7 separate regions of the Homo sapiens genome follow, and regions 1, 3, 4, 5, 6 and 7 are each linked to region 2. Evidence: promoter capture Hi-C in human tissues and cell types (Jung and others, 2019). All regions are on one chromosome and are shown on one strand. Each heading gives the region's core, a stretch centred on a gene start or on the middle of the fragment in contact. The rest is flanking DNA. Distances are from core to core; before and after follow the strand shown. Region 1 overlaps LOC105373032 (a long non-coding RNA gene). Region 2 holds the start of RPL3 (ribosomal protein L3). Region 3 overlaps NPTXR (neuronal pentraxin receptor). Region 4 has its middle 16 kb from the start of APOBEC3A. Region 5 overlaps LOC105373032 (a long non-coding RNA gene). Region 6 holds the start of LOC105373033 (a long non-coding RNA gene). Region 7 holds the start of APOBEC3F (apolipoprotein B mRNA editing enzyme catalytic subunit 3F).

The links. The method cuts DNA at HindIII sites, captures the fragments that hold promoters and counts their contacts. A contact is called where the count stands out against the background at its distance.
Region 1: a contact is called between a fragment that was not itself captured here and the fragment with the promoter of RPL3 in region 2, in 1 of the 25 tissues and cell types used here (spleen).
Region 3: a fragment that was not itself captured here is called in contact with the fragment with the promoter of RPL3 in region 2 in 1 of the 25 tissues and cell types used here (dorsolateral prefrontal cortex).
Region 4: a contact is called between a fragment that was not itself captured here and the fragment with the promoter of RPL3 in region 2, in 1 of the 25 tissues and cell types used here (lymphoblastoid cells).
Region 5: a fragment that was not itself captured here is called in contact with the fragment with the promoter of RPL3 in region 2 in 1 of the 25 tissues and cell types used here (heart right ventricle).
Region 6: a contact is called between a fragment that was not itself captured here and the fragment with the promoter of RPL3 in region 2, in 1 of the 25 tissues and cell types used here (liver).
Region 7: a contact is called between the fragment with the promoter of APOBEC3F here and the fragment with the promoter of RPL3 in region 2, in 5 of the 25 tissues and cell types used here (aorta, bladder, lymphoblastoid cells and 2 more).

The regions. Positions count from the first base shown.
Region 1 is chr22:38,916,575-38,919,955 of GRCh38, forward strand. The region is part of intron 1 of LOC105373032 (a long non-coding RNA gene); the gene reads left to right. Among named protein-coding and RNA genes, the nearest start is that of APOBEC3A, 39 kb to the right of the region's middle. The HindIII fragment of the contact is 3,874 bases long and covers 1-3,381 here.
Region 2 is chr22:39,318,323-39,321,350 of GRCh38, forward strand. It overlaps RPL3 (ribosomal protein L3), which reads right to left and starts at 1,301. Exons shown (of 10, transcript NM_000967.4): 1 at 1,273-1,301; 2 at 78-270. The coding sequence starts at 1,275. SNORD43 (small nucleolar RNA, C/D box 43) reads right to left here and starts at 791; the gene lies at 730-791. RefSeq lists enhancers at 290-1,179, 1,046-1,095, 1,180-2,069, 1,486-1,905, 2,070-2,958. The HindIII fragment of the contact is 19,716 bases long and covers 303-3,028 here.
Region 3 is chr22:38,832,020-38,835,122 of GRCh38, forward strand. The region is part of intron 1 of NPTXR (neuronal pentraxin receptor); the gene reads right to left. Among named protein-coding and RNA genes, the nearest start is that of NPTXR, 10 kb to the right of the region's middle. The HindIII fragment of the contact is 5,879 bases long and covers 1-3,103 here.
Region 4 is chr22:38,939,979-38,943,008 of GRCh38, forward strand. No RefSeq gene overlaps it. Among named protein-coding and RNA genes, the nearest start is that of APOBEC3A, 16 kb to the right of the region's middle. The HindIII fragment of the contact is 9,821 bases long and covers 1-3,030 here.
Region 5 is chr22:38,897,954-38,901,330 of GRCh38, forward strand. All of the region lies in intron 1 of LOC105373032 (a long non-coding RNA gene), which reads left to right. Among named protein-coding and RNA genes, the nearest start is that of CBX6, 27 kb to the left of the region's middle. The HindIII fragment of the contact is 3,107 bases long and covers 1-2,824 here.
Region 6 is chr22:38,967,041-38,970,237 of GRCh38, forward strand. It overlaps LOC105373033 (a long non-coding RNA gene), which reads right to left and starts at 813. Exons shown (of 3, transcript XR_007068099.1): 1 at 1-813. LOC124905118 (a long non-coding RNA gene) reads right to left here and starts at 2,327. Exons shown (of 3, transcript XR_007068101.1): 1 at 2,200-2,327; 2 at 1,748-1,805; 3 at 1,073-1,559. The HindIII fragment of the contact is 5,262 bases long and covers 1-3,197 here.
Region 7 is chr22:39,039,149-39,042,419 of GRCh38, forward strand. It overlaps APOBEC3F (apolipoprotein B mRNA editing enzyme catalytic subunit 3F), which reads left to right and starts at 1,716. Exons shown (of 7, transcript NM_145298.6): 1 at 1,716-1,829. The coding sequence starts at 1,813. RefSeq lists enhancers at 1,526-1,585, 2,638-3,271. The HindIII fragment of the contact is 19,854 bases long and covers 1-3,271 here.

The sequences.
Region 1 (3,381 bases), core at 272-2,771, 400 kb before region 2:
CTAGGGCACCCATTCTCTGTGAACTCTTGTGCCTGAATCTCATTGACTGGCTTTCGAGGCTTAAAGCAGAAAAGCACCGTGTAACTTGGCTTAGGAATTGCTCTTAGACAAATCTATAGATCCTGGTCTCTTAACATCTGCTTTCCCCGGAAGCCAGCAGTGGGAGCTCCCCTTTCTCCACTGATGGGTCCAAATGGAAGCGTTCCTGGGTATTTTTGGTTCTCAGCCCCATCTTCCAGCCTGGAGGGGAGGGTTGTAACAGTTCACAACATGAGCACTGGTGAAAATCCAGTTACTCCAGCAGCAAGAGCACAACCTATGAGAGGCAGGGGGGTTCTGCCCTCAGACTGGCTCTTGCATAGGGAGAGAAGACCTTGTGCTGATAGGACTCACCTGTTTGGCACAGGAGGCACCCATCAGCGCTGTTCATGGTCCTGAACTACAGCTGCTGGTCTCTCTTTTTTTGTTTTTGTTTTTTTTTGAGATGGAGCCTTGCTCTGTTGCCCAGGCTGGAGTGCAGTGGTGTGATCTTGACTCACTGCAACCTCCGCCTCCGGGTTCAAACGATTCTCCTGCCTCAGCCTCCCAAGTAGCTGGGATTACAGGCGCCCACCACCATGCCCAGCTAATTTTTGTATTTTTAGGAGAGATGAGGTTTCACCATGTTGGCCAGGCTGGTCTCGAACTCCTGACTTCAGGTGATCCACCTGCCAAAGTGCTGGGATTACAGGTTGAGACACCGCACCCGGCCCAGCTGCTGGTCTCTATTGCATTCTCCTTCCACTTTCCATAGAGTCAGTGGTGACTTCAGTCCAGCCTCTCCCAAGAATTGGGAATCAAGTTAGCAAGGACGTGAGAGGAGAGGGGAACATGGCTGGAATCCTTTGGAGAATAATGCTGCTGAGACATTTGCAGGGAGAAGAAAATGGGACTTTTTCTTTTGGTCATCTTTGACAAAGTTTTACAATTACCAAGACCTCTGAGAAGCTGGGAAGCGCATGACACCACTATACCACATCCCTCTGCTGGCAAGTTCATAGAAGGGGATGGAGACCTAGGACTGTGAATTCCAGGAGTGCAGGGTCCATATTGGACTCCCTTATCCCTTGTCAGTGTACAAGGCAGGCATTCAATAAGTGTTGGTTGAACTGATAAGATGTTGGGTGTAAGAGACTAAGTACAGGAATACCTCAGAGATACGGTGGGTTTGGTTCCAGGCCATCACGATAAAGTGAATATTGCAATAAAGCAAGGCACACAAATTTTATTGTTTCCGAGTACATATAAAAGTTATGTTTACTCTATACTGTAGCCTATTAAGTGTGCAATCGCATTATTCTAAAAAAGTACATACCTTAAAAATATTTTATTGCTAAAAAGGCTAATGATCATCTGAACCTTCAGTGAGTTGTAATCTTATTGCTGGTGGAGGGTCTTGCTTTGATGTTGATGGCTGCCAACAGATCAGGGTGGTGGTTGCTGAAGGCTGGGGTGGTGGTGGCAATTTCTTAAAATAAGACAACAATGGGCTGGGTGTGGTGGCTCATGGCTGTAATCCCAGCCCTTTTGGAGGCCAAGGTGAGTGGATCACCTGAGGTCAGGAGTTTGAGACTGGGCTGGTCAACATGGTGAAACCTCATCTCTACCAAAAATACAAAAATTAGCTCAGCGTGGTGGCAAGCACCTGTAATCCCAGCTACTTGGGAGGCTGCGGCAGGAGAATCATTTGAATCTTGGAGGTGGAGACTGCAGTGAGCCAACTGCACCAGTGAGCCAACGCCACTGCACTCCAGCCTGGGCGACAAGAGTGAAACTCTGTCTCAATAAATAAATAAATAAATAAGACAACGATGAAGTTTGCCACATTGATTGACTCTTCCTTTCATGAAAGATTCTCTGTAGCATGTGATGCTGTTTTATAGCATTTTACCCACAGTAGCACTCCTTTCAAAATTGGTGTCAATTCTCTCAAACCTGCTTTATCAACTAAATTTCTATAATATTTAAAATGCTTTGTTGTTATTTCAACATGTTCACAGCATCTTCACCAGGAGTACATTCCATTTCAAGAAACCACTTTCTTTGCTCATCTATAAGAAGCAGCTCATCATTCACTCAAGTTTGATCATGAGATTGCAGCAATGCAGTCACATTTATAGGCTTCACTTCTACTTCTAGTTCTCTAGCTATTTCCACCACATCTGCAGTTCTTTCTTTTACTGAAGTCTTCAACTCCTCAAAGTCATCCACAAAGGTTGGACTCAACTCCTTTCAAACTCCTGGTAGATTGATATGTTCATAATGGCACCTAGAATGATAAATGCTTTTCAGTAGGTTTCAATTTACTTTGCCCAGATCCAGACTTGAAAGCTGAAAGGACTCCTTGGTCCATGGGCTGCAGAATGGACATTGTGTTAGCAGGCAGGAAAGCAACATTCATCTCCTTGTGCATCTCCAGCAGAGCTCTTGGGTGACCAGGTGCATTGTCAATGAGCAGTAATATTTTGAAAAGAATATTTGAAAAGAATATTTTTTTCCGAGCAGTATATATCAACAGTGGGCTTAAAATATCCAGCAAACCACGCTGTAAACAGATGTGCAGTCATCTAAGCTAGAGCACTGGCAGAGTAGATTTAGCATCATTCTTAAGGACCCTAGGATTTTCAGAATGGTAAATGAGCATTGACTTCAACTTAAAGTCACCAGCTGCACTAGCCCCTAGCAAGATAGTCAGCCTGTCCTTTGAAGCTTCAAAGCCAGGCATTGCCTTCCCCTCTCTAGCTATGAAAGTTCTAGATGGCATCTTCTTTCAATAGAAGGTTATTTCATCTACATGGAAAACCTGTTGTTCACTATGGCCACCTTAATCAATGATCTTAGCCAGATCTTCTGGACAACTTGCAGCTGCTCCATCAGCACTTGCTGCTTCACCTTGCACTTTTATGTTATGGAGACAGTTTCTTTCCTTAAATCTCACGAACCAACCTCTGCTAGCTTCAGACTTTTCTTCCGCAACTTCCTCACCTCTCTCAGCCTTCATAGAATTGAAGAGAGCTAGGGCCTTGCTCTGGATTAGGCTTTCGCTTAGGAGAATGTCATGGCTGGTTTGATCTTCTATCCAGACCCCTCAAACTTTCTCCATATCAGCAGTAAGCCTGTTTCACTTTCTTATCATTCATGTACTCATTGGAGTGGCACTTTTAATTTCCTTCAAAGGCTTTTCCTTTGCATTCACAACTTGGCTAACTGCATAGTGGAAGAGGCCTAGCTTTCAGCCTATCTTGTTTCTTGACATTCCTTCCTCATTAAGCCTAATCATTTCTAGCTTTTGATTGAAAGCAAGAGATATGTGACAGTTCCTTTCACTTGAACACTGAGAGG
Region 2 (3,028 bases), core at 51-2,550:
AACAGCTTGACTCCATCTCTACAATTTCCCTCCCCCTCCACTCCTATTCCCCCAACTTTTAGGATGTCTGTACATACTGGATCCCGGCCTGTCGACTTCCCGCACGATGTGAGTCATGCCAGCCTTGTATCCCAGGAAGGCTGTGAGGTGGACCGGCTTGGACGGGTCATCCTTAGGGAAGCTCTTCACCTTCCCACGATGCCTGCTGCTGCGCTTCCGAGGCAGGAAGCCGAGGGACCCATGTCTGGGAGCGGAGAACTTTCTGTGAGACTAGGTGGGAAAAAAATCACCGTCAGCACCCAAACCAAAGCAGTGCCCCCTTCTCTAGTTCCCAGCTGCTTAAGTTCCAAATCTCAGCAATACTGAAGAATCCTGACCAGACACCCAGCAAGCCGAATAAAAAGGTCATTATCTCTTCCAGGCTCGCACGTGTCAAGAATGCTTTTGTATTCGACAAAATTTAAGCTGAATCTTATTTCAAATCCTCTCAACCTGTAAGAAAACGACCCATTTTTTTTATCTAACCACACAAAAATACACTAAGTAGTGGCACTAAAAACTGCTTAACAGGCAGCTTTATATGCCAATTAGCAAGGTTTTGACCGCTAAAGAAAGGGACTCCCGGGACAAACGCTGGGTAGCAGCTAGCAATGTTAAGCTATAGGCTGCCTCCGGTGCCCGGACACTAATTACACTGATACACACAGGCCAAAGAACTCCGCAGAGCCAAATCAGAACGTGACAATCAGCACACAGTTTCTGTCCGCCCGTCAATAAGTTCATCATCTGTGGTTTCTGCGAGCTCCAGAGGCCTTCGGAGTGCACCAGCGGCCCCAGATATTCAGGAGGACTCCACAACACTCCCCTCCCCCAAGCTTCTTTACCTCCCAATGAGAACGGCGCCGAGAACCTCCACCCAAGGTCCTTCTACCCAGACAAGCAGGTTATGGGCCCTAATCCCAACTAATGATAGAATTGGTGAGGTCGAAACTTAGAAATGACTCATGGCTTTAAAAACGCCGGGCCTCCAAGCCTGCTCCCACCCTTACGGCCTCTCTCTGGCCGACCTGCAGGCCCAAAGCCAGTCCTCCAAGCGCTCTTCACAAGCCTCTCGACTTTCCAGAAAATAGGCCAGACTGAAGTCCCCGCTGGGTCGCCCGTGCCCCTAAAGCAAACCCCCGGCGCCGGCCAAGACGGGATGGCGGCGATGCGTCGCGGATTCAGCCGTGCCGACGCCGGTGACAATGAAACGGCCGCCATTACAACACATACCATCACGCCATCAAATCCCGCCGGTAGAGGCCGGTCGGCCTTACGGGTCCGCTATATAAAGCCAAATCTGGCCCCGCCCCTTCCGGCGTGCGAGCGCGCCCCCGCGGCAGACGACAGGTCGGGGGCACGTACCGAGCGCCATTTCCACGCACGCTCTTCCGCTCCTAGCTTTCGTTCAGAAGTTGACGTCAGCTTCGGAGACAGAAATTACACACTCTACGGCGAGGGGTCGGGTTCAAACTTAGTGAAAAGCCGCGGAGAGGTGGGCTAAGGGTGGGTGAGCCACAAATCTACGGCGTCCGGCAGCAGCCAAATTTGATAATAACGAAGAAAAATGGCTGCGTCGCTTCTCCTCCTGTGATATGCAGCTATCTCTGGAATTAGCGAAGAAAGACTGAAACTCTCGTTTCCTGGCTCCCACGCTGGTTTTGCGGCGACACCAATTTACCTTTAATACCTTTAATCTCGGGCATCCCTCCCTCAAGCCCTATCTCTGCCATTTCTCCCATGCTAATGCAGTGGCCCGCGCTTGATTCTGAGGGTCAGGAGCGTCCCAAGCCTGCGGAACGGCCTCACGACCTCTGGTCATGCCGAGTCCAGCTGCTCAGCCTCCCGGAGCCCCACGCCTTCCAGACCTATGCATCAGCGAGGGCTTTCGCTGATCTCTGCCTAGGCTCCAGGGTGACTCGGATCCTGACCGATTCCCTGCTTCCAGGCTGGTCCCTTACAAATCTCTTTTTTGAGACGGAGTCTCGCTCTGTCGCAGTGGCGCGATCTCAGCTCACTGCAAGCTCCGCCTACCGGTTCCCAGTTCAAGCAGTTCTCCTGCCTCAGCCTCCCGAGTAGCTGGGATTACAGGAATGCGCCACCATGCCTGGCTAATTTTTTTTTTTTTTTTTTTTGTATTTTTAGTGGAGACGGTGTTTCACCATGTTGGCCAGGCTGGTCTTGAACTCCTGATCTCGTGATCCGCCCGCCTCGGCCTCCCAAAGTGCTGGGATTACAGGTGTGAGCCACCGCGCCTGGCCCCCTACAAATCTTTCTAAGAATCAAGTATCTCGTTACTTTCCATGGCCGCCTCGTTGTTTCCTCGGAATTAAGCATCAACTTCAGCGGCCACCAAAGACGCTCCCCTAACCGTCTACTTCAGCCTCATGGCTGCGCCAGAGCACACGCTCTCATATCACCTGCTTCCTCTGTCCCACCCTGTCATCTTCTTTAATTCTGGGCCTGGCCTTTGCTCCCACCGTCGTTTGAAAAGCATTCTCTCGGCCAGGCGCGGTGGCTCACGCCTGTAATCCCAACACTTTGGGAGACCGAGGCGGGCGGATCACCTGAGGTCAGGAGTTCGAAACCAGCCTGGGCAACATGGCGAAACCCCGTCTCTATTAAAAATACAAAAATTAGCGGGGCACGATGGTGTGCGTCTGTAATCCCAGCTACTTGGGAGGCTGAGGCGGGAGAATCGTTTGAACCCGGGAGACGGAGTTTGCAGTGAGCTGAGATTGCGCCAGTGCAATCCAGCTCAAAAAAAAAAAAATTATCTCAATCCTCACACCATTCCCGAAGGACATAAGTGATAGATCTTCAATCCATTATTAGAAATCCTGGGGGCCACATATGTTTCAAAATTGAGCATTTTTTGATTTTTAGAAAGGTAATATGGTGCACATACTGTATATTATGTAATACAGCACTTTTTAAAGAAAAACAATATTCCGTAAGGAAACATGAATATTCACATGGAGTGGGACAA
Region 3 (3,103 bases), core at 21-2,520, 490 kb before region 2:
GAAGAACAGAGGGAGGAAGATCTGCCAGCAAGAACAGGGAGTCGAGGCTATTTAAACAGACGCTGTTTGGAGGAGAAAACGTGCGGGCTGAGGGGGTGTGCGCTCAAGCTGTTCTTTTGTCAGAGCCACTGGCTCTGCAGCGGCCAGGAAGGCCATGGAGGAGGTGGGCTCGCCGGATCGTGTGTGAGTCCCTCCCCGTCCCAGTGTCTGAATCAGAAGAACACGACTCCCGCACCCCCACTTCCCATCTGCTGTGGGCGCAGGCTGTGCCGCGTGGGCTCCCGGCCCGATGCCAACTGGGCCCCTCACCTAAGATGATGGAGGGAATGATGACGCCAGCACCCCCACTCAGCTCCTGCTGGGGCAGAAAGGTGGAGGCTGGGAACCCATGGCCTGTCCCGCTGGGAGTCCGGGGTGGGGTTTGGCGTAAGTGTGCTGGGCCTAGAGCCAGAGCCCCTTGTTCTAGGCCTGGCTCAGCCATAATGTGCTGGGCTCATTAGCACTCAATCAGAATGCTAACGGCAGCAGCTGTCTCCATCGAGCACTCGCTGCATGCCAGGCCCCGCACTAGGGAAGATCTGTGCAAACAGTTCTAGGCTGCTCTCAACAGCCTGGGGAAGTAGGGAGGCCCACTCAGAGATGAGGGAACTGAGGCTCAGTGCCTGTCTAAGGTCACATACCTGTGACGCTGCAGAGCCAGCACTCCAGCCTGGCCTTCCTGATCCTGAAATCTGTGCTCATTCCTCAGGCTCACACTGATGGTCTGGGTCTGTTGGTTGATCTGCCAAGTGGGCACAGTGCTGGTTGCCCTGCCTAACTCGAAGGCAAGCAGGAGAGGTACTAATGGCCACGGGAAGTCTAGAAGATCCAGAAGGTTGTGTGAGACTATGGCGCAGGGCAGCTTCACAAAGGGAGACTGATAGGAGGGTCCTGCCAGCGTGGGGTGGCTGAGGCTGGGAGGATGCAGGGAAACCCCATCACCTTAGCCCCACCCGGGGTCTATTCCCTTGCTGCAGGGAGCAGAAGGCAGGTGCAGGACTCCAGGGCCAGAGTCCCATCCTCTGCACAGCCCACAGACTGTGCTCATTCCTCAGGCCTACACTGCTGGTCTGGGTCTGTTGAGGGTCAGGGTCCCACCCTCTGCACCACTGCCCCTGCCCAGGATCACCCAGGTAGTGGTACTCCCAGCTGGCAGTGAGGCAGAGGCTGTTCTGGGACGGCCAGACCACCAGGTTTTGCAACGGTGGGAGTTTGGGGTCAGAAAGCTTTCTCAGAGAAACCCCATCCTGCCACCCCACCTCCCTCACCAGGGGCAGACTGCAGGGGCACCAGGACCAGGTGGAAAGTGAGCAGCCTTCAGGGGGAGCAGTGTGGACCACGGCCCCTCACCTCCCCCATCCAACCATCCCCTGAGTTCTGAGTCCTGCTAGGGCTCACACCTGGGCTTCACCAGCTGAGTGGCCTTGTTATGTAACGGTGCCATGCCTCAGTTTCCCCATTGGCCCCAAAGGGTAAAAGAGTAAATCTCATAGCATCGTGGTGAGGATTGACTGAGTTCATAGACAGAAAGCGCTTAGTGCGCGGTAGGCATAGGAAGCATCACAGGCGTGTCTACTATTAATGTCGTGACTAACAATTTTTTTTTTTTTTTTGCGATGGAGTTTCTTTTTTTTTTGAGACAGAGTCTCGCTGTTGCCCAGGCTGGAGTGCAGTGGCACGATCTCGGCTCACTGCAGGCTCCGCCCCCCTGGGGTTCACGCCATTCTCCTGCCTCAGCCTCCCGAGTAGCTGGGACTACAGGCGCCTGCCACCTCACCCAGCTAATTTTTTGTATTTTTAGTAGAGATGGGGTTTCACTGTGTTAGCCAGGATGGTCTCCATCTCCTGACCTTGTGATGGGGATCAGCTGATTGGAAACGTTTGGTTCTTGAGCCTGGGCAGGGGCCTGGGTAGTAGTATTTATGCCTTTTTGCCCATCTGAAATACTTGACATGATTTTCTTTTAAAAACAGGAAAACAATCCTAAAGTGGCATCTCTAGTGGTTGAATCTAACCCTGCTTCTTACCCAGAGCTTCATGAAGTGGTGTCTCTAATGCTTGAATCTAAACCTGCGTCTCGCCCAGAGCTTCACTCAGCTCCTAGCCTTCTCCCTAGTCCTGGCTACTCTCCGCTGGACTGTGCCACAGCTTCCACTCCCACCCTCCACACAGCGGCCAGAGGCAAATCCAGCCATGTTGCTCTCCTGCTTAAAATCCTTCCACAGCCCCGTCTCCCTGCCAATAAAGTCCCTGTCCTCCTGGCTTCAGCCCTTACCCCGACAGGACATAGGTCACGCCCACTGAAAGTCCTCTGCTGCTCAACTGCCCCAAACTCCTTCTCACCCTAAGGCCTCCACACATGCTGTTCCTTCTCCAAGAACATTCTTCCCGCCCCCACCCCTCCTCTGCCCATTGCCTGCTCATCCTCCAGATGGCAGCTTCCCTGATGCCTGAACTGAGATGCTCTATAGAGAGAGAAGAGGGCCCTGAGAGCTTCTCTGGCAGGGCTGCAGAGCACTCATCCATCCATCCATCCATCCATCATCCATCCATCCATCCATCCATCCATCCATCCATCCATGTGTGCCGCAGCAACATGGCGTCGTAGTTGCAGACACGAACTGTCACGTTAGACAGGCCAGCGTCATTTTCAGTTCCTTGCTTACTAGATCTGCGACCTTGGGCAAGCTGCTTAACTCCTCTGGCCCTCAGTTACCTTATCTGTAAAATGGGTGTAATAATAGTACCTACATTTGGGGATATAAATAATGATAAAATGAAAGAACAGATATGAAGTGTGGTCAACCATAAGAGGCAGTACGTGGTTGTCACATTACTATTATTCTTTGCTGTTATTGAGAGGCAGGAGAGCATAATGTGTCATGGTGCAGGCCCTGGAGCCAGACTGCCTGGGTGGAAATGCCAGCTGAGTGAGCTGGACAAGCTTCTGAAACTTTCTGAGCCTCAGTTTCCTCATCTGTAAAACAGAGATAGTAATAGTACCATAGTTCTTGTGGGATTCAATTGTAAGGCCCTTGACAGGCCTGGTGCAGAGGGTGAGCTC
Region 4 (3,030 bases), core at 49-2,548, 380 kb before region 2:
TTTGCATTTGTGTTGTATTTCTGTCTATCAGTGTATTTGGGATATTTTATGTCCGTTAGTAAAACTGTTCCCTTCTTTCAAAATACAGGCTTTGAAACTTTGTTTTCTTTCAAAAATGTTTGTATTGGAGTATAACTTAGAGTTAATTGCAAAAGCTTAGGTTTGCAGTTGATGTAACCACCGGCCAGATGGGGTGGAGGCTTTCTCCAGAATCTCAGGTGGCTCATGCATGTCATTCGATTTGTTCCCCCTCCACTGGAAACTGGTGTTCTGACTTCTATTATCATAGATTAATTTTGCCTGTTTTTGAACTTCATAGAAATTACACAGTATGAATTCTTTTATGTGTGACTTCTTTTGTTCAATATTACTTTTGTGGGGTTCACTGATGCTTTATATGCCAGGAGTTCATTCATTTTTATTGCTGTGTAGTATTCCATTGATGGAGAGAGTACAATATATTTACCATGTATAACATATTCACAATATATTTTAATATATATTTTAAATTATAATATATTAAAATTACATTGTATATAATTTATATATTAAAATAATTTTATATATTATAATATATTTTAATATATGCCATTGTTGCTGGACAGACCGAGTTATTTCGAGTTTTTGGCTGTCATGAATAAAGCGAAATGAACGTTCTTTTTTTTTTTTTTTTTGAGAGTCTCGTTCTGTTGCCCAGGCTGGAGTGCAGTGGCACCATCTCTGCTCATTGCAACCTCCACCTCCTGGGTTCAAGGGATTCTCCTGACTCAGCCTCCCGAGTAGCTGGAATTACAGGTGCATGCCAACACGCCTGGCTAATTTTTGTACTTCTTTTTAGCAGAGATGGAGTTTTGCCATGTTGGCCAGGCTGGTCTCAAACTCCTGACCTCTGGTGATCTGCCTCCCTCAGCATTCCAAAGCGCTGGGATTACAGGCGTGAGCCACCGCGCCCAGACTGTGAACGTTCTTATGCAGCCTTTTGGTGGACATAGCATCTATTTCAGTTGGATATTATAATACCTAGGAGTGGCATTGCTAAGTCATGGAGTAGATGCTTGTTTCGCTTTAGTAGCTGCAACTAAACATTCTATGCTGCCCCTTTTATGCTACCATCAGCAATGTAAAAGAGTTCCATCCTTGACAATATTTGATGTTGTCAGTCTTTTGGATTTTAGCCATCCTGGTGGGGAGGGGCTAGTGGTATCTCACTGTGGTTTTACTTTACATTTCTCTGATGATTAATGAGGTTGACCACATTTTCATGGGTTCACAGGCCATTTTGATATCCACTTTTGTAAGCTGCTCCTTCAAGATTTTGGCCCATTTTATAATGGGCTCTTTTTCTTACTGATTTTCTGGAGCTCCTTATATATTTGGGAGATAAACTCTTTGTTAGGTAGATATAGTGCAGACATCTTTTCCGAGTCTATGATAGGCCTTTTCACTCCCTTACTCCCTTAATGGTGCTTTCTGATGAAAGTCTGTGCTTTTCTTACTAATTCCTGGTTATAGTATCGTTTTATTTCACATTGTGGATGAGGTTAAAAGTTGTTGATATAACACACACTAGTTAAGACAACATCCTGGAGAAGGGAACACGGCGCAGAGGATTTTCTCCTCTAGGCTGCTTCCGGTTTTCGGAGTCAGTCATACTGACCCTCTGGTTTTAGTTCCTTGGGTGGTTTCCTCGGGGAACCACTATTTCTTGATTTACTAGCTCTTGATGGTATCTACTGCCTTCCCTCCGCGAATATGAGAGTTTCGCTCTTATAATTCTCCAGAACTTCCCCTCCCCTCCTCTCCCCTCCTCATGTAGTTGCATCAGTGCCCTCAGGTCCCCCGTGGGCAAACGCCCACAGCTTCAAGTGCTTGCTGAAACTCAACAAGAAGCAGAATCACTTGACTCAACCTTGTGAATCAGCCGCTGACACTTCCCTCACTCCTCTTCCAGCCTCCCTCCTCATTCCATCTTGACCTCTTTCACTTTCGCCTTCACATTATTAAGGTTGAGAATGTTTATATTAATTTTGTGAACATATCTCAGCCTCCCATGTCCTGTCTATAGATTGAATCTAAATGTTGAAAACCCAGTCTTTGGGGTTTACATCACCGTACTTATAGGAACGTGCATCTCACCAACCTCGGTCATGATGACTTACCTCTCCCGAATCTTCCTGTCTTAATGCCGTTCCAAAAAACATCTTCTTCATGTGGCAGCCAAATGGTTCCACCTTTTTGATTTTCCACCGATGATGCTTACAATCGTGCCATGATCTTGTTGGCCTCCTCCTTGGACCATGGCTGTAGAGTGTGGAAAGGTGTTAACTCTTCAACCTTTTCTGTCTGTCCAGTGTAGAAAAGGGTTAACCTTTCCACTCTGTGAGCCGCCCCCCATGTTTCCTTTTTTTTGAGATGGAGTCTCACTTTTGTCACCCAGGCTGGAGTGCAGTGCCACGATCTCAGCTCACTACAACCTTCGCCTCCTGGGTTCAAGTGATTCTCCTGCCTCAGCCTCCCAAGTAGCTGGGATTACAGGTGCCTGCCACCACACCTGGCTAATTTTTGTATTTTTAGTAGAGACGGGCTTTTGCCATGTTGGCCAGGCTGGTCTTGAACTCTTGACCTCAGGTGATCCACCTGCCTTGGCCTCCCAAAGTGCTGGGATTACAGGTGTGAGCCAGCGCACCCAGCTTCCCCCACGTTTCTAGGTAGCCATGGTTAGTTTCTTTTGCTTGCAACCAAAGATCTCTAATAGGTAAAGAAGGTGATCCAAGATTCCAGGAAACAGGAAACAGAAGGAACGTGCTGTGGGGAGATGAAACAGAAGCTCCGGGTGAGACCAGGGCAGCACTGACCACTCCACAGCACCTGGCTGTGTAGCTGCTCTGGGTTGGACTCGCCTGCCCAGCATCCCTTCCTCTGCTGCCTTTGGGGAACCGCCTCTCCTTTGATTGTCATCTTGATTGATTTGTGGACAAGACAACCCAGGCCCCTGCCCTCTCCAGGACTAGGGCCAGTTCAGAACCCAAA
Region 5 (3,377 bases), core at 21-2,520, 420 kb before region 2:
TTTTTTAATGTGTCTATGCTACTAACTTGATGTATTTTAGTTTAGCTTGTTTAAATTTGTTTTCAATTTTTAGGGATTTTTTTCTATTTTGATTTCATTTTATTTTGTATTTATGTAAAATTTGTTTTATTTTAAAGTGAAAACTGTAAAACAAGGTGTCTTCACAGAAGTCTCCTTTCCATCCTACTTTACCCTGTTTACTGCCTTCCTCTTCACATTGTATAGATTTTTGGTTTGGTTTGTCCTCACCTTGCATTGCTCCCTTTCTGGAGACACATATTTTTCTTTTTAATCACATATAACACTTCTTTATCAACTTGATATATCAGATTTTGTATGATAACATCAGGGTTTTAGGCTATAAATCCAAATTATTCTCCCAAGTAGTATTATTAAATCCAAAACCATCTTGAATCTTTACCTAACCCCCTCCACATACACTTAGAAGTTTTTTTTTTTTGTTTTTTTGTTTTTTTGTTTTGAGACAGAATTTCCCTCTCTTGCCCAGGCTGGAGCACAGTGGCACCATCTTGGCTCACTGCAACCTCCACTTCCCAGGTTCAAGTGACTCTCGTGCCTCAGGCTCCTGAGTAGCTGGGATTACAAGTGTGCACCACCACACCTGGCTAATTTTTTTTGTATTTTTAGTAGAGATGGGGTTTCACCACGTTGGCCAGATTAGTCTCGAACTCCTGGCCCACTTAGAGGAATTTTATTTTAAAATTATTTATTTGTTTTTTGAGATGTAGTTTCACTCTTGTTGCCCAGGCTGGAGTGCAATGGCGCGATCTCTGCTCACCGCAACCTCCGCCTCCAGGGTTCAAGCAATTCTTCTGCCTCAGCCTCCCAAGTAGCTGGGATTACAGGCATGCGCCACCATGCCCAGATAATTTTTGTATTTTAGTAGAGATAGGGTTTCATCATGTTGCAGGCTAGGTTTTAGGGAGAGGTTATTATTATTATTATTATTTTCTTTTTTGAGATGGAGTCTCACTCTGTCGCCCAGGCTGGAGTGCGGTGGTGTGATCTCAGCTCACTGCAACCTCTGCCTTCCAGGTTCAAGCGATTCTCTTGCCTCAGCTTCTCAAGTAGCTGGGATTACAGGTGCCCACCACCAAGCCCGGCTATTTTTTGTATTTTTAGTAGAGATGATGTTTCACCATGTTGGCTAGGTTGGTCTCGAACTCCTGACCTCAAGTGATTCTCCCACCTCAGCCTCCTAAAGTGCTGGGATTACAGGCATGAACCACCCCATCGGGCCCACTTAGAGGAATTTTAAAAAGACTGCTTAAAATTTTGGAGTGCCATATGGTTAATATGTGAAAATATTTAGGTTTGCCCTAAAATCTTCTAATTTATGGGTGAAAATGCATGCTTCACTCCATATGTGTTTGTGTTTATATTTTAATTGCAGGTAATCCTAATGTAAAACTTCTAATTTATTAAGGAGCTTTTGATAAAACCAAATGCCTACTGATTCATGTTTAAAATTCAAATTTCTCAAAGCAATTATGAAATATGCCCATATTATACTTATTTAAAAAACTAAAAATAATAAATAATTATTGAAAGAAGCTATTGTACCTTTGGTTCTTTACCCCAAAAGTTCAAGTGGAATTTTTTTTATAGATTTACATAATTTTCTTTTCTTTTATTTATTTATTTATTTATTTATTTATTTATTTATTTTTTTGAGATAGAGTCTCGCTCTGTTGCCCAGGCTGGAGTGCAGTGGCTTGACCTTGGCTCACTGCAATCTCTGCGTCCCAGGTTTAAGCATCCTCCCAGCTCAGACTCCCGAGTAGCTAGGACTACAGATGTGTGCACCACCACACATGACTAATTTTTTTTTATTTTTATTTTTTGTGGAGACGGAGTTTTGCCATGTTGTCTAGGCTGGTCTTGAACTACCGGAGTCAAGCAGGAGTCTTGCCTCAGCCTCCCAAAGTGCTAGAATTACAGGTGTGAGCCACTGTACCTGGCCTAGATTTACATAATTTCCGCTACAACCGATTTCTAAAAGACAGTAGGCTTTATAATTGTATCACATTTCCATTGTAGTATACTTCAATTGTGGTTCTATGATCATATATTTGCAGAAGGTTTTGCCTATTTAGTTTTAGTGCAAAAATTCAGGTTTTTGCATGGAAGCAGGCTGTGCTATACCTCCAATTCCCAATTTTGTATTTTGTAGTAATTGCACTTAACCTTACGGAAACTAACAAAATTACTAAGCTTTAAAATTCAGATTAAATTTAAAATGTTGGCTTTCATTATACATTCCCTATAACTGTAATTTAGAACACATACCATCTCTCAAATTTGAAAAAAATTTAGAAAAACAACAAAATTTATACATGCTTTACAGAGTCATACCTGAGATCTTGAGATTATCTTTTAAATTTAATACACCAAGCTCTTTCCTTGAGGAAAAGTTTTCTATCCATAAAATAATCTGAAATCAGAGTTGCTTCTAAGCAAACACACTTAAATTTCAGCTATCTATTTAGTGTCATCTAGTAGAGTAGGATTCTTTATTGGAAATATGAACAATTTACCTCTATTTTTGGCTGCAATATTCTGAGTTTAACCCGAGGAAAAAAAATGTTCATTTTGATTAATTTTTGATTTTTCAGATATTCCACTTTTAGTAGACAAGTGAAATGCTGTCGTTTCAGACCTTTTATTTTTTAAATGTGATATTCTCTTTATTAAATGTATAAACTCAAAATCCTAGTTATTTTTGAGATTTCAAGTTCATTTTACACTTTGTATTATTCTAAGAAGAGCACATGCTTGGTTCCATTTACAACCACTTTAATCTTTAAGTTGCATTTATAAATTTAGCATCTTTAATTTCCTTCACTACTATTTTAATGGCCTGACCACAATAGTGGCATGTGACCTGAGACCACAAACTTCTCTCTTCCTTTCCTGTATCTCTGAGGTAAACCGATCATCCCAGCTGCAGTATCAGCCAAGGAGTAGTGTAACCGAGTATCCCAGCCTCGAAATGCATTTTAAAACTTTTTTTTCCTTTCTTGCTTTCAGCCTTGAAACATACTTTGAAATTCTTTCTCTTTTTCCCACCAGGTGCTCCCGTGCACAGTGCTGACTTATCCGATTATGTGCTTGCTTAGAAATTTCAGGGGGCAGTTTTGCAACAAGCCAGGCAGAGAGACCCAGCTGTTGAATCCTCCCGCTCAAGGGAAGTTAGGAAGTTAGTCCACCACCACTGGGCTGAAGACAGGATGACACAAACCAGACCTCCAGATGGGTGATTACTTGAGATAGCTATAGAACAAGACATGCAGACCTGCATTCTCCTGCACCATGCCCGCATATTTTCTACACCTTTTTCCTTCTTAAATCCCTTC
Region 6 (3,197 bases), core at 11-2,510, 350 kb before region 2:
CGGGTGGCCAGGGTGGGACTGTCCCCAGGATGTGGACTCTCTTGCATGAGACAGCTGGCCAAGGATGGGGGGTCTAAGAGGAGCCAAGACAGGGGAATCAGCAGGACAGGGGGCAGCCCCCAGGCCCACAGGGCCAGTGCATTCTTCGGGCAGCTGTGCTGGGTGCAGTAGGTGGACCTGGGAAAGGATGGCGCCAGACCTGCCGTTGGGACTCAGGGGCTCACTTGGGGCAGGAGCACAGCTTCCCACACATTTCTGCAGGGCTGGAGGTGGGAGAAAGGGCACAGGGTGAGCCTTCTGAGGGCATTTGTGTCCCTGCATCACTCTGCTCACTGGGAGGGCCTGGGCAAGTCTAGGTACCTTTCAGAGCCTCTCGTATCTCCTCTAGAGGAGTAATGGGGATGAAAGCACCCCTTGCTCTAGTTTGCCGTAATTAGATGGACTGACACAAACAAGGGCTCAGCATGTCTGTCTCCTTCCCTTCCCAGGGCCTGGGATCAAGACCCAGGACACACTCTGCTCTCTGCACTGCACGCCCTGCAGGGCCCTGGATGCAGCAGGCATGCCCTGTGCTGGCTATAGTAGGGGACGTAGGGTCGGCTGCTCTGGAGCCTACTCTCTGGGGGCGCTGAGTCTTATTCGAGACCTTTCTCCAGGGTGTGGATACCTGTCCTCCTGCCTGTCCCCTGGCCTCCTGCCTTCCTGGTCCCTGCTGCCCAAAGTGACTGAAGTGTGGCCAAGGCTCGCTTTCCTCATTGTCACTCCACAGCATCCCTGTAGGGCTATTGTCAGAGCAGGGAAATCAAAACCAATGCTTGTGGGAAGACACAGCAGAGAACTTCCTTATTCTGTGACACTGATGTGGGTGGCACAGGGGACCTGAGTTCAGGAAGGGGTGGGGCAGGTCATTGCTGACCCAGCAGCTTGCGGTCACTCTGAAGTGATGTAAGCCTCCTGTGTCCTAAGAGCAACCAGAGGAGGACCACAGGAGCACATGCTGTGACCGTCACAGAAGCAGGAGGACCCTGACCTAGGAACCGTGAAGGGACTAGGACATGATGGCTAATGGCTAACACGGTGCTGACAGCCAGTCCTGCAGCCTCTCGAAGCCTCTGCTCCTGAGCCTCCTCCTCGGGTTCCTTGGTGATGGTCACTTGCCTCCTGCCCTCCAGGGGCTCCTTCTGGTTCCCTTGGGGACTGTCCTCTCCCCTTAACCCTCTCTGGACCTGGCTTCTGCTCTAGGCTCCCAGCCCTGTTCCCAGCCCCAGTCTCTAGTCTGATGCTATCTATTGAGTCTCCTCCTGCTCCTGGGGCAGGTGTGCAGGGGGGCAGCAAATCCCAGGTGATGGCACTGTGCCCAGGGGGCGAAGACGGTTGGAGAGAAGATTCTCCTCACCCACCTTTAGAGTGGCACCCACCATTTCTGGCAAATGCACCATGTCTCCCCTCTGGGCTAAGCTCTTTTCGCGCCCAATCCAACCCTATCTTACCCAATATTGGGAATAGGGAGTTGCTCCCGACACCACCGTGCTACGAGGAAAAGCCATTCTTTCCTTTTCCTGTGAACACACAGAGGGTAAGTGGTAGAGCCCAGATTCACACCGGTGTCTATGCAAAACCATAGGCAGCACTGAGATTTCCCTAAGGCCAGGCTCATTAGGGTTATGTAGGGTGCACAGAGCGGGGCTGGGAGAGGCCTGCAAGGCCCAGTAGGTGCTTCCTGCCCAAGAGTCCTGAGGTGGCCCACCTGGCTAGAGAAGCATGGTCGTTGCTTGTTTGGCAGAACACAGGACTGTTGTGGTATCCTTCATTGCCGTGTTCATGTATATAATTTAAATTAAAATGTAAAATTAAAGAAAAGAAAGAAAGACGTTAGAGCAGCCCCGGTCAGCCCCGGTCCTGGGAGGTATCACCCAGGTTGTGGGCTTTGCACTCCTCTCCCATATGATCACAGCTCCCCTCGGCCCCGGTGGCCCCCCTGCCACGCCGCCTTGAATTTGACAATGCCACATTAGAAGTCTTGGTCTTAATCCTGAATGTTTCTTTTGCCCACCTTCCCTTTCATTCGCCCAGCTGTTTCAACCCCAAAACGCTGCTTCCTCCCCTTCCTCTCACTTCCATATCTAATTAGTAACTCACTCTGGCTGAATTCATCCCCACAATTCACCCCCAATGTACCCTGACTGCCATCACTGTCACCTGTCGCCTGGGATGTCTGACAGTCTCCGGTTCACCAGCTCAGCTCCCATTCCCTTTGCATGCAGCTACTGGAGTGACTTTGTTTTTTTCTTTTTTTAGAGATAAGCTCTGTCTCTGTCACCCAGGCTGGAGTGCTGCAGCGTGATCATATCTCACTGCAGCCTCGAACTCCTGAGCTCAGGCAATCCTCCAATCTCAGCCTCCTGAGTAGCTGGGACAACAGGACCATGCCACCATGCCTGGGGAATTTTTTGTAGAGACAGGGTCTTGCTATGTTGCCCAGGCTGGTCTTCAAACTCCTGGTCTCAAGCAATCCTCCATCCTTGACCTCCCATAGTGCCAGGATTACTGGCATCAGCCACCTGGCCCAGCTCTGGAGTGACTCTTCAAAAGAAAAACCAGGTCATGTCACTGTTTGGTGACATGAAACAACCCCTACCCCAACCACACATGGATATGCACATGTACACATGCATGTAGGCTCACACACCCATGTATGCATGTGCACGTGCATGTGGGCACATGCGGGAGGGTACACCCAGTTGTTGTCTTTTAAAATGAAATCGAGGCCGAGTGCGGTGGCTCACACCTGTAATCCCAGCATTTTGGGAGGCCGAGGCGAGTGGATCGCTTGAGGTCGGGAGTTGGAGACCAGCCTGGCCAACATGGTGAAACTGTGTCTCTATTAAAAATACAAAACTTAGCTGGGCATGGTAGCAGGCGCCTGTAATCCCAGCTACTCAGGAGGCTAAGGCAGGAGACTCGCTTGAAGCTGGGAGGCAGAGGTTGCAGTGAGCCGAGATGGCACCACTGCAATCCAGCCTGGGGGACAGAGCAAGACTCTGTCTCAAAAAAAAAAAAAAAAAAAGAAATTTACATTTTTCCCAATGACCCATGAGACTCCCTCCTCCCGTGCCAGCTTTGTCACCCTCTACTTTTTTTTTTTTTTTTTTTAAGACGGAGTTTCTCTGTTGTTGCCCAGGCTGGAGTGCAATGGC
Region 7 (3,271 bases), core at 466-2,965, 280 kb before region 2:
ATTGATCAGTTAGGGTAGGGCAGGAACAAGTCCTAATGGTGGAATGTCTTAAGGTTGGTTAATCAGTTAAGGGAGAAACTGGCTGTTTCACTTCTTTTGTGTTTTTTTGGCTGCTCCAGACTTCTTGGCTGCTGCAGGCCATCTGGATGTATATGTGCAGTTCACAGGGGTCACAATGGCTTAGCTCCGGCTCAGAGGCCTGACACTGACCTCAGATGATCCACCTGCCTCGGCCTCCCAAAATGCTGGGATTACAGGCGTGAGCCACTGTGCCTGCCTGGGATCATATGTTACACGCATGTTTGTTCAATAAGCATGGAGTGCAGCCACCCACATGAATATTCATAGCTCCTCCTATAGCCTGTTGAATATGTATGTTTAGCCAACCCCTTCAGCATAAAGCTCCTGCCCCAACCCCTCCTGCTTCTAAATGTCTGTCTCTGGTGTTTCCCAGAGGCTGCTCTTCCCAGGCTGCGGGATGGCTACCTTGCTGCCTGTCACCCTTAACAAGAAATAAAATCTCCTTTCCAAATTTATACATTGTGGCCAGGCGCGGTGGCTCACACCTGTAATCCCGGCACTTTGGTACGCCAAGGCGGGCGGATCTCCTCAGATCGGGAGTTCGAGATCAGCTGACCAACATGGAGAAACCCTGTCTCTACTAAAAATACAAAAATTAGCCAGGCATAGTGGTGGGCGGCTGTAAGCCTGACCAACATGGAGAAACACTGTCTCTACTAAGAATACAAAAATTAGCCTAGGCGTAGGGGTGGGTGCCTGTAATCGCAGTTACATGGGAGGCTGAGGCAGGAGAATCTTTTGAACCTGGGAGGCAAAGGTTGCGGTGAGCTGAGATTACGCCACTGTACTCCAGCCTGGGTAACAGAGCAAGTCTCCGTCTCAAAACAAACAAACAAACAAAAAAACACAAAAAAACAAAAGCAAACAAAAAAACCAAATGCATCCCTTGTGTAATTTTTAGGTCACCGCGCCATGGGAACACGCTACCAGGGGAAGGGAGCTGTGAGACGCGCAGGGAGGCTCCAGACAGGCTGGCCTGGGACACCAGCCACTGCTCTTCCATGACATGGGGACAAGAGGAGGCGAGAGCTCAGCCCACCAGGGAGGAACTCCGGGCAGGAGATGGGGAAGAAGGAGAAGCAGGAAGGAAAGAGCTCAGTGTGGGGGCGCGCATGGCATCCCGGTGGGACATCTGAGGCCCACACCCACCTGCTGTCCCTCCCTCCCACGGTGGCCTCCGAGGGTGAAGGCCTGGGGAGAGGCAGACACCTGGCCCTTTACTCTCCCTCCCTGTCCCCATGGCCGCTGGGTGGGGGCCGTCTCTGGGATGATCCCCGAGGGCAGGATCCGGGAGTCCCTGCGGAGGCATCAGCCTGTCTGTCTTGATGGTGGAGAGGAGGCTCCAGCTGGGCGGGACCACCAGGGGAGGGGCTTGTGCTCTGCTGGCTCAGCCTGGTGTGGACCCACCTCGCGGGCGCTGGCTGCAATGACTTTCTCTTTCCCTTTGCAATTGCCTTGGGTCCTGCCGCACAGAGCGGCCTGTCTTTATCAGAGGTCCCTCTGCCAGGGGGAGGGCCCCAGAGAAAACCAGAAAGAGGGTGAGAGACTGAGGAAGATAAAGCGTCCCAGGGCCTCCTACACCAGCGCCTGAGCAGGAAGGGGGAGGGGCCATGACTACGAGGCCCTGGGAGGTCACTTTAGGGAGGGCTGTCCTGAAACCTGGAGCCTGGAGCAGAAAGTGAAACCCTGGTGCTCCAGACAAAGATCTTAGTCGGGACTAGCCGGCCAAGGATGAAGCCTCACTTCAGGTACCGCTGCCCGCTCTACCCGCTGGGCCCCTCTGCTGCCCCTTCCTGCCTGGTGGCTCTGCTGGGCGTCAGCCCTGGCCTCCCCCTGCCCCAGCCCCAGCCCTGGGCTCCCTCCCCTCTGGCTCCCCTGCCCCCGCCACTCCCAGCCAGGCTCTTTTTCCTGCTCTGTGGTTGCCCCACTGCTGCTTCTGAATAGGCCGCTTCCCCACCTGCCCCAGCCCAGGTGCCCTGCTGAGACTCTCCCCCGCCACCGAAAGTCATGGCAGGGCTGGTGCTCCCGGCCCTGGGAGGGTGCTCCCTCTGTGTTCTTTCCGCCATTCCTGAACTCTGGAACTGGGAGAATTGAACCAAAGGATGATTAGAGCAATGTGGAATTTTGTTCACAGTGCTTTGATGGATTTTCTGTAACATTTACTTTGCTTAAATAGCAAGTCTTAGGAGAGGGTGTGGGGAGGGAATGGTCTCTGAAGCACAAGATAAATCGTATCTTCCAAGGATGTCTCCACTGTGGGCAGAGGAGGATGCAGATGACCCCAAACACACGCTCCTCCTCCACTATCAGCATTCACTGTTTATAAATGACACGAGTAACATGGAATATAGTGGCCGGGTGCGGTGGCTCACACCTGTCATCCCAGCACTTTGGTAGGCTGAGGTGGGTGGATTGCCTGAGGTCGGGAGTTCGAGACCATCCTGATCAACATGGATAAACCCTGTCTCTACTAAAAATACAAAATTAGCCGGGTGTGGTGGCGGGCGCCTATAATCCAGCTACTCCACAGGCTGAGACAGGAGAATCGCTTGAACCCAGGAGGCGGAGGTTGCAGTGAGCCGAGATCGCCCCATCGCACTCCAGCCTGGGCAACAAGAGCCAAATTTCGTCTCAAAAGAAAAAAAAACAAAAACAAAAAACATGGAATATATGGGAAAAAAACTCAATGATCAGGAGAAATGCTATTATTTTAAAATTTAGTAAGAAGAGAGTCTGGTCCCCAATGGCTCCCTCCTGCAAGGCTGGTGACACAGAGACTGGACAGGGCTGGTCTGGTAAGAGGCCCCAGCCCCATCCGTCCCCAGCTCTGTGGCCTGGGCAGGTTACCCCATCTCTCTGCGCCTCTGGCACCTCCTCTGTAAGATGGGAATGGCCCGTGCGGGCCTAGGGCAGCCTCACATGAGCTCACATCCGCGCAGCACTTAGAAGAGTGGCCTGGGCCTCAGAATTCGGTTCTACCATGATTTAACAATAGTAATATACAGAGGTGAAATGTCAGAAGGAACTGGCTGAAAGGTTAAAATCTATTATTTTGGGGTGAATAGTTTTATTCTCTCTCTCTTTTTTTTTTTTTTTTTTGAGATGGAGTTTCGCTCTTGTAGCCCAGGCTGGAGTGCAGTGGCACGATCTCGGCTCACTACAACCTCCGCCTCCCAGGTTCAAGCGATTC